Regions from separate parts of the Homo sapiens genome. Here region 2 is linked to region 1. Evidence: promoter capture Hi-C in 16 types of primary human blood cells and fetal thymus (Javierre and others, 2016). All regions are on one chromosome and are shown on one strand. Each heading gives the region's core, a stretch centred on a gene start or on the middle of the fragment in contact. The rest is flanking DNA. Distances are from core to core; before and after follow the strand shown.

Region 1 (3,257 bases), core at 758-3,257:
AAAAAAAAAAAGTTCGGGCCTGCCCTGGATTCAAGTTTATCATTCCTACACTTGATTAAAACACCTAAATTTAATCCATTTTACAAATAGCCATGGGTCCTCAGTCCAGATATAAAAGGAAATTAGATTTCAATTTAAAACAAGCTACAAACAGTGGAAAACCAGAAAACACTAAAATAAGACACTGGCTAAATAACTACAACAAAATCTCACTTCTTAAAAATCCACGCCTAAAAAAAAAAATCCACTAGACAGGAATGTGTGGCAGTGCAGAAAGGCAGAAGACTGAAGCGCACGTTTGATCTAATTGTGTAAGAGCTTGCTAAATCAGTTACTACTTGAAAGTATACTTCAGAGAGAAGACTGAAACTTCTAGACTGTTTCTAGCATCCTTAAGTAACTGCAGACACTTATAATACTGAATGATATCCTAGTTATAAATAATTCTTATCCATAACTTAAATCCATCTTGAGGCTCTACTAAGTAAATCTTCCTTAACCTACTTAGAGGATGTGCAGTAGCGATGAAAGTAGCCTTTCTTTTCTTTTTCTTTTTTTTTTTTTTTTTGAGACGGAGTCTCGCTCTGTCGCCAGGCTGGAGTACAGTGGCGCGATCTCGGCTCACTGTAACCTCCTCCGCCTCCTGGGTTCCAGCGATTCTCCTGCCTCAGCCTCCCGAGTAGCTGGGACTACAGGCGTGCGCCACCACTCCCACATAATTTTTTGTATTTTTAGTAGAGACGGGGTTTCACCGTGTTGGCCAGGATGGTCTCAAATCTCTTGACCTCGTGATCTGTGTGCTGGGAGTACAGGCGTGAGCCACCGCGCCCGGCCTTAAGCCCCTTTCTTTAAGGCTCAAGGGCATATTTTCACACTGCAGTGCATCACAACCGTTTTCATTCTTCCAGTGTTCCTTTCTTCTGGTCTCCAGCCACCTGCCAGGTACTTCTGATTAATTACATATAAGATTTATCCAAGCCACCCCCTCCGTTTCTACCAACTGGACTTCATTCTCTTCAGTTCCTGCTAGAATGCACCTCCTACCTGAAGTCTTCCCTCATCAATGCCCTCCATGATCAGCCTTTGACTCTGGAATCCCTTAATATATTCCTCAGATCATTAGAGGTTTTCTGAGTCATCATCTGAGATTTTTCATTAAATTGTGGAGTTTGAGCAGCCAGTCCTGAGCTGTCGGACTCAGTTCCAAATAGAAGTCCTAGTTAAAGACACAAAAACAAGAAGATGGGTTAGCTGCGGCTCGAAGAGCTGGTGAGCGCGACCACAGGGCAGCTTGCGGACGGTTCTTTCGGACAGGACAAGGGCGAGGGAAACGGCAGAATGGTGACGCACCTGAGTGCGCCCACTAGACGAAAGAAGACCAACTAAGCCTTCGTGTAGTGCGTAGACAGGCCGACACACACACACACACACACACACACACACTAACACACACGCAAAGACAGTGAGGGAGCGAGAGGCGCATCCCCAGGTAGCTGACAATGACACGGCCCCGATCCGGACGCGGGCTTAAAGCCCCCCGACTTCCGGAGTGCCCCCCTCCCCGGCGACCTCCGGAGATTACCGCTGGCGCATCTCTCCGCCCTGCCCGGCTCCGGCGCCCTCCCCTCCCCCCGCAGCCGCAGCTCCCCGCCCCCCGCGAACGCGGCTCCCCAGTGTCCTCCAGAACGCCCGCGTGGCTGTCGGGTTTCGAACCCCAGGGCCGACTCTAGTACTCGGCGCGCGCGCCGCCGCGTCGCCGACCAGCCTGCGGCCCCCGCATCAATCATTAACGGGGCGGCCCGGGCTGCGGCGGCCCGAGGAGGGGGATGGTACGGAACTCGAGACAGGGGACAACTCTATCCCCCGAAGCGGCCGCGAAACCCTAGCCTGGGAGGCCCCCGCCCTTCCTCGGTGCGCCCGTCCCTCCCTCCGCGCCTCGGCTCGCACATCCCCACCTCCCGCTCCGGGGGCGGCGGCGGCGGAGGCACCCGCACCGCGCGATGCCCAGTCACCGCTGCCGCGCTGCCGCCGCAGTCAGCCGCGCCGCCGCCGCTGCCGCAGCGCGGGCGGCCGCGCGCCGGTAGCAGGGGCTTGGCGAGGAAGCCGCTGAGCCTCGCGCGCTCCGCGCTCCTGGCGGTCGCAGCGCTGCCTATTAATTGATTCTCTTATTGATTTATTTAATTTTTAGGAGCGGCTGCTCGGAGGCACGGGTCTTCTCCTAAACCTGCAGCGACGCCCCCGGCGTGGGCACAAAGGCTCCGACGGCGGCCGGCGGGGGCTGCCCAGCGCCCGGGAGCCGGCGCCAGAGGTCGCCTGCGCGCGCCCTAGCCGAGCCCCGGGCACCATGCCGCGGCGCCTGCAGCCCCGGGGCGCGGGCACAAAAGGCCCTCCGGCCCCGGCCCCGGCAGCTTCGGGGGCCGCCCGGAACTCCCACTCTGCCGCCTCCCGGGACCCCCCAGCGTCTGCCAAGCCGCTGCTGCGCTGGGACGAGGTGCCCGACGACTTCGTGGAGTGCTTCATCCTGTCGGGCTACCGGCGTCTGCCGTGCACGGCCCAGGAGTGCCTAGCCTCGGTGCTGAAGCCTACCAACGAGACGCTCAACTTCTGGACGCACTTCATCCCGCTGCTGCTGTTCCTGAGCAAGTTCTGCCGTCTGTTCTTCCTGAGCGGCGGCGACGTGCCCTTCCACCACCCGTGGCTGCTACCGTTGTGGTGCTACGCGTCGGGAGTGCTGCTGACCTTCGCCATGAGCTGCACGGCGCACGTGTTCAGCTGCCTGTCGCTGCGTCTGCGCGCCGCCTTCTTCTACCTGGACTACGCGTCCATCAGCTACTACGGCTTCGGCAGCACGGTGGCCTACTACTACTACCTGTTGCCAGGCCTCAGCTTGCTGGATGCCAGAGTCATGACTCCATACTTGCAGCAGCGCCTGGGCTGGCACGTGGACTGCACGCGCCTTATCGCCGCCTACCGCGCCCTGGTGCTGCCTGTGGCCTTCGTGCTGGCGGTGGCTTGCACTGTGGCCTGCTGCAAGAGCCGTACCGACTGGTGTACCTACCCGTTCGCGCTGCGCACCTTCGTCTTCGTCATGCCGCTCAGCATGGCCTGCCCCATTATGCTCGAGAGCTGGCTCTTCGACCTGCGTGGGGAGAACCCCACACTCTTCGTGCACTTCTACCGCCGCTACTTCTGGCTGGTGGTGGCCGCCTTCTTCAACGTGAGCAAGATCCCCGAGCGCATCCAGCCGGGTCTTTTCG
Region 2 (3,257 bases), core at 398-2,897, 330 kb after region 1:
CTTCCCAAAGTGTTGGGATTACAGACATGAGCCACCATGCCCAGTCTCAATTTCATTCTTTTGCATATGGATATCCAATTTTCCAACACCATCTGTTGAACAGACTGTCTCTGCCCCATCGTATAAGTCTTGGGACCCTTGTCAAAAATCATTTGACTCTCCCTCTATGTGTGTGTGTGTGTGTGTGTGTGTGTGTGTGTGTTTATTTACATGCTCTCTATTCTGTTCCATTGGTCTATATATATGTCTTTATGCCAGTACTATACCATCTTGATATCAGACTGCTGCTTTGTAGTATATTTTGAAAGCAGGAACTGTACACTCTCTATTTTTTTCAAGATTGCTTTGGATATTCAAGGTTGCTTGAGATTTTCTTTTTTTTCTTTTTTGAGACAGAGTTTTGCTGTTGTTGCCCAGACTGGAGAGCAGTGGCATGATCTTGGCTCACTGCAACCTCCACCTTCTGGTTTCAAGCAATTCTCCCACCTCAGCCTCCTGAGTAGCTGGGATTACAGACACTCACCACCATGACCGGCTAATTTTTGTAATTTTAGTAGAGATGGAGTTTCACCATGTTGGCCAGGCTGGTCTCGAACTCCTGACATCATGATCTGCCCACCTCGGCCTCCCAAAGTGCTGGGATTACAGGCATGAGCCACTGCACCCAGCCAGGATTTTATATTTCAGAGTGTTTTGTTTGTTTTTTTTTTTTTTTTTTTTGAGGCAGGGTCTCACTGTGTTGCCCAGGCTGGAGTGCACTGGTGCAATCTCAGCTTACTACAACCTCCACCTCCTGGGCTCAAGCAATCCTCCCGCCTCAGCCCCCTGAGCAGCTGGTATTACAGGCACCTGCCACCACGCCCCGATAGTTTTTGTCTTTTTAGTAGAGATGGGGTTTCACCATGAGACCAGGATGGTCTCAAAATCCTGGCCTCAAGTGATCTACCTGCCTCGGCCTCCCAAAGTGCTGGGATTACAGGTGTGAGCCACCTTGCCAGGCCAAAATTTTAAATTTTTTTTTCTGTTTCTGTAGGTGGGGGGAAACCCTATAACCATTCTTGATCTTTATTCTTGGATGCAGTTAAATTACTTGGAAAGAGTTTGACCCTTAGGTCTTGCTTTTAAGCTTCATTAGGCAGGACCAGCACAGAAGTGAGTTTAGGGCTCTGATTCTCAACAGGAGATGACTATGATCCCCAGAGGACATCTGGCAATGTCTGGAGACATTTTTTACTTTCACAAAAGGAGGCATCACTGGCATCTAGTGTGTTGAGGCCAGGGACGTTGCTAAACATCATATAATACACAGGAGATCCCCTTAAAACAAAGAATTATCAAGTCTAACATTCCTATAGTGCTGAGGTTGAGAAACCACACTGTCTGTGGGCTAATTATTCCCCATTATTGAGGCAAGAGGCCTCTGAGTACCCAATAAGCTGTACATTACTACATGGTTTTTTACCGTGTGGCTGGTAAGAACTGGCACTGTTCCTGGTCTGTGTGAGTGCTAAGCACTATTCCTTCTAATCCTTCCCGACAGTTCTTTCCCAGGTCTCCAGTTAGTTTCCTCATACCCATGTGTGCTAATCAGAATTCTGATGAATATGTGCCAGGAACTTTATATAAATTATTTCTAATCCGGCCAGGCACAGTGGCTCACGCCTGTAAACCCAGCACTTTGGGAGGCCGAGGCGGGTGGATCATGAGGTCAGGAGTTCGAGACCAGCCTGGCCAACATGGTGAAACCCCGTCTCTACTAAAAATACAAAAATTAGCCGGGCATGGTGGTGTGCACCTGTAATCCCAGCTACTCAGGCTTAGGAGGCTGAGGCAGAAGACTTGCTTGAACCTAGGAGGCAGAAGTTGCAGTAAGCCAAGATCGCGCCATTGCACTCCAGCCTGGGTGACAGAGTGAGACTATGTCTCAAAAAAAAAAAAAAATTATTTCCAATCCTTAAAACAGCCACCAAAAGTAGCAGTTGTTATCTCTATTTTTACTTATAAAATCAAGCTCACTAAGGTTAACTAACTTGCCCAGTAGCACTCAGCTAGTAGGCACATATTAGTATCAAAACAACTACAGTCATATTGAAACAAACTTGAAACAAGTGTGAGGAACAAGTCCACATGATCACTATTCAATCTAAGGCTGGGTCCAGGAAGCTTCCCCTCTGGACCTGCCATAAGAGAATTTCGTCATTCTGCTTACAGAGTTAATCTGACTCTATACAGCTTTTGAAACCTTAGAATATTTTACTTCAGTTAACTTCATTACTTAAAATAGCATTAATTGGCTGACCCAGTGTTTTTTGTTTGTCTGTTTCAAAGTGATGGGTTTTTTCATTAAGTCATAAGGTAGTATGAATGTCTCAGGACAAATTCACTAGAGATTTCATTCTCAGCTAATAACAATGACAAATGTTGTGAAAGAAAGAAATAAGTTTGAAAGTGATTCTTCATGGTGGCCTAAAACCAAAGACTAAGGAAGACCACCATGATATTATAAGTAACAGGTGCCATTATCAAGGTAAATTACATTTCACATTTAAGTGTTTTCTAATTTATAAAGCACTTTCAGATGTATTATCACATCTGACTTTCACATCAGCCCAGTGAGCTAAGGAACAGGACTGAATATTACATATTATAGAATTATTAGCTGTTTCCTAATATGTAAAATGAGAATAAAAATAATATTATTACACTACATAAATTTATACACATACACATATGCATGCACACATGCACACTGCATGCACATGTGCGCGCACACATGCACACTGCATGCACATGTGCGCGCACACACACACACTATATTCTGGGACCCATCTTTATTCCCATTTCCACATATAAGGAAACAGATTCAGAGAGATCAAGCTAAACAGCCTAGATCATCCACTAGTAAGTGTCAAAGCTGGTAGTATTTTCAGTGTGCCCGAGTCCCAGTTCCATGTTCCTTTCAAAAAACCGAACTGACTCCTGAATGGCCAAAAGCAATGATGTCATGAATCAGGTTCTCAAGGGAACCAAGGTATCATCTTTCTACATGATATTCAAGAAAGAGCTCTGAGCTTCTTTTATGTAGACATTGAAATTAGATGACTCAGTATAGAGGTTTACAAAACAATTCTTTCTGTACATGGTTCTTTTTAGTTTCTCAATTCTAACAACTCCAAATCCTCATTTTTTTCTAAAAATTAAAATATGATTGGCCCAGCATGGTGGCTCATACCTGTAATTGCAGCACTTTGGGAGGC

The links. The method cuts DNA at HindIII sites, captures the fragments that hold promoters and counts their contacts. A CHiCAGO score of 5 or more calls a contact.
Region 2: a contact is called between a fragment that was not itself captured here and the fragment with the promoter of PAQR9 in region 1, in 1 of 17 cell types (endothelial precursors). The highest score is 5.1, in endothelial precursors.

Annotation. Positions count from the first base shown.
Region 1 is chr3:142,962,424-142,965,680 of GRCh38, reverse strand. It overlaps PAQR9 (progestin and adipoQ receptor family member 9), which reads left to right and starts at 2,007. Exons shown (of 1, transcript NM_198504.4): 1 at 2,007-3,257. The coding sequence starts at 2,345. PAQR9-AS1 (PAQR9 antisense RNA 1) reads right to left here and starts at 1,623. Exons shown (of 5, transcript NR_125393.1): 1 at 1,583-1,623; 2 at 1,045-1,216. RefSeq lists a silencer at 2,793-2,978. The HindIII fragment of the contact is 6,414 bases long and covers 1-3,257 here.
Region 2 is chr3:142,627,884-142,631,140 of GRCh38, reverse strand. All of the region lies in intron 1 of PLS1 (plastin 1), which reads right to left. The region is part of intron 2 of PLS1-AS1 (PLS1 antisense RNA 1); the gene reads left to right. Among named protein-coding and RNA genes, the nearest start is that of PLS1-AS1, 27 kb to the left of the region's middle. The HindIII fragment of the contact is 1,037 bases long and covers 1,129-2,165 here.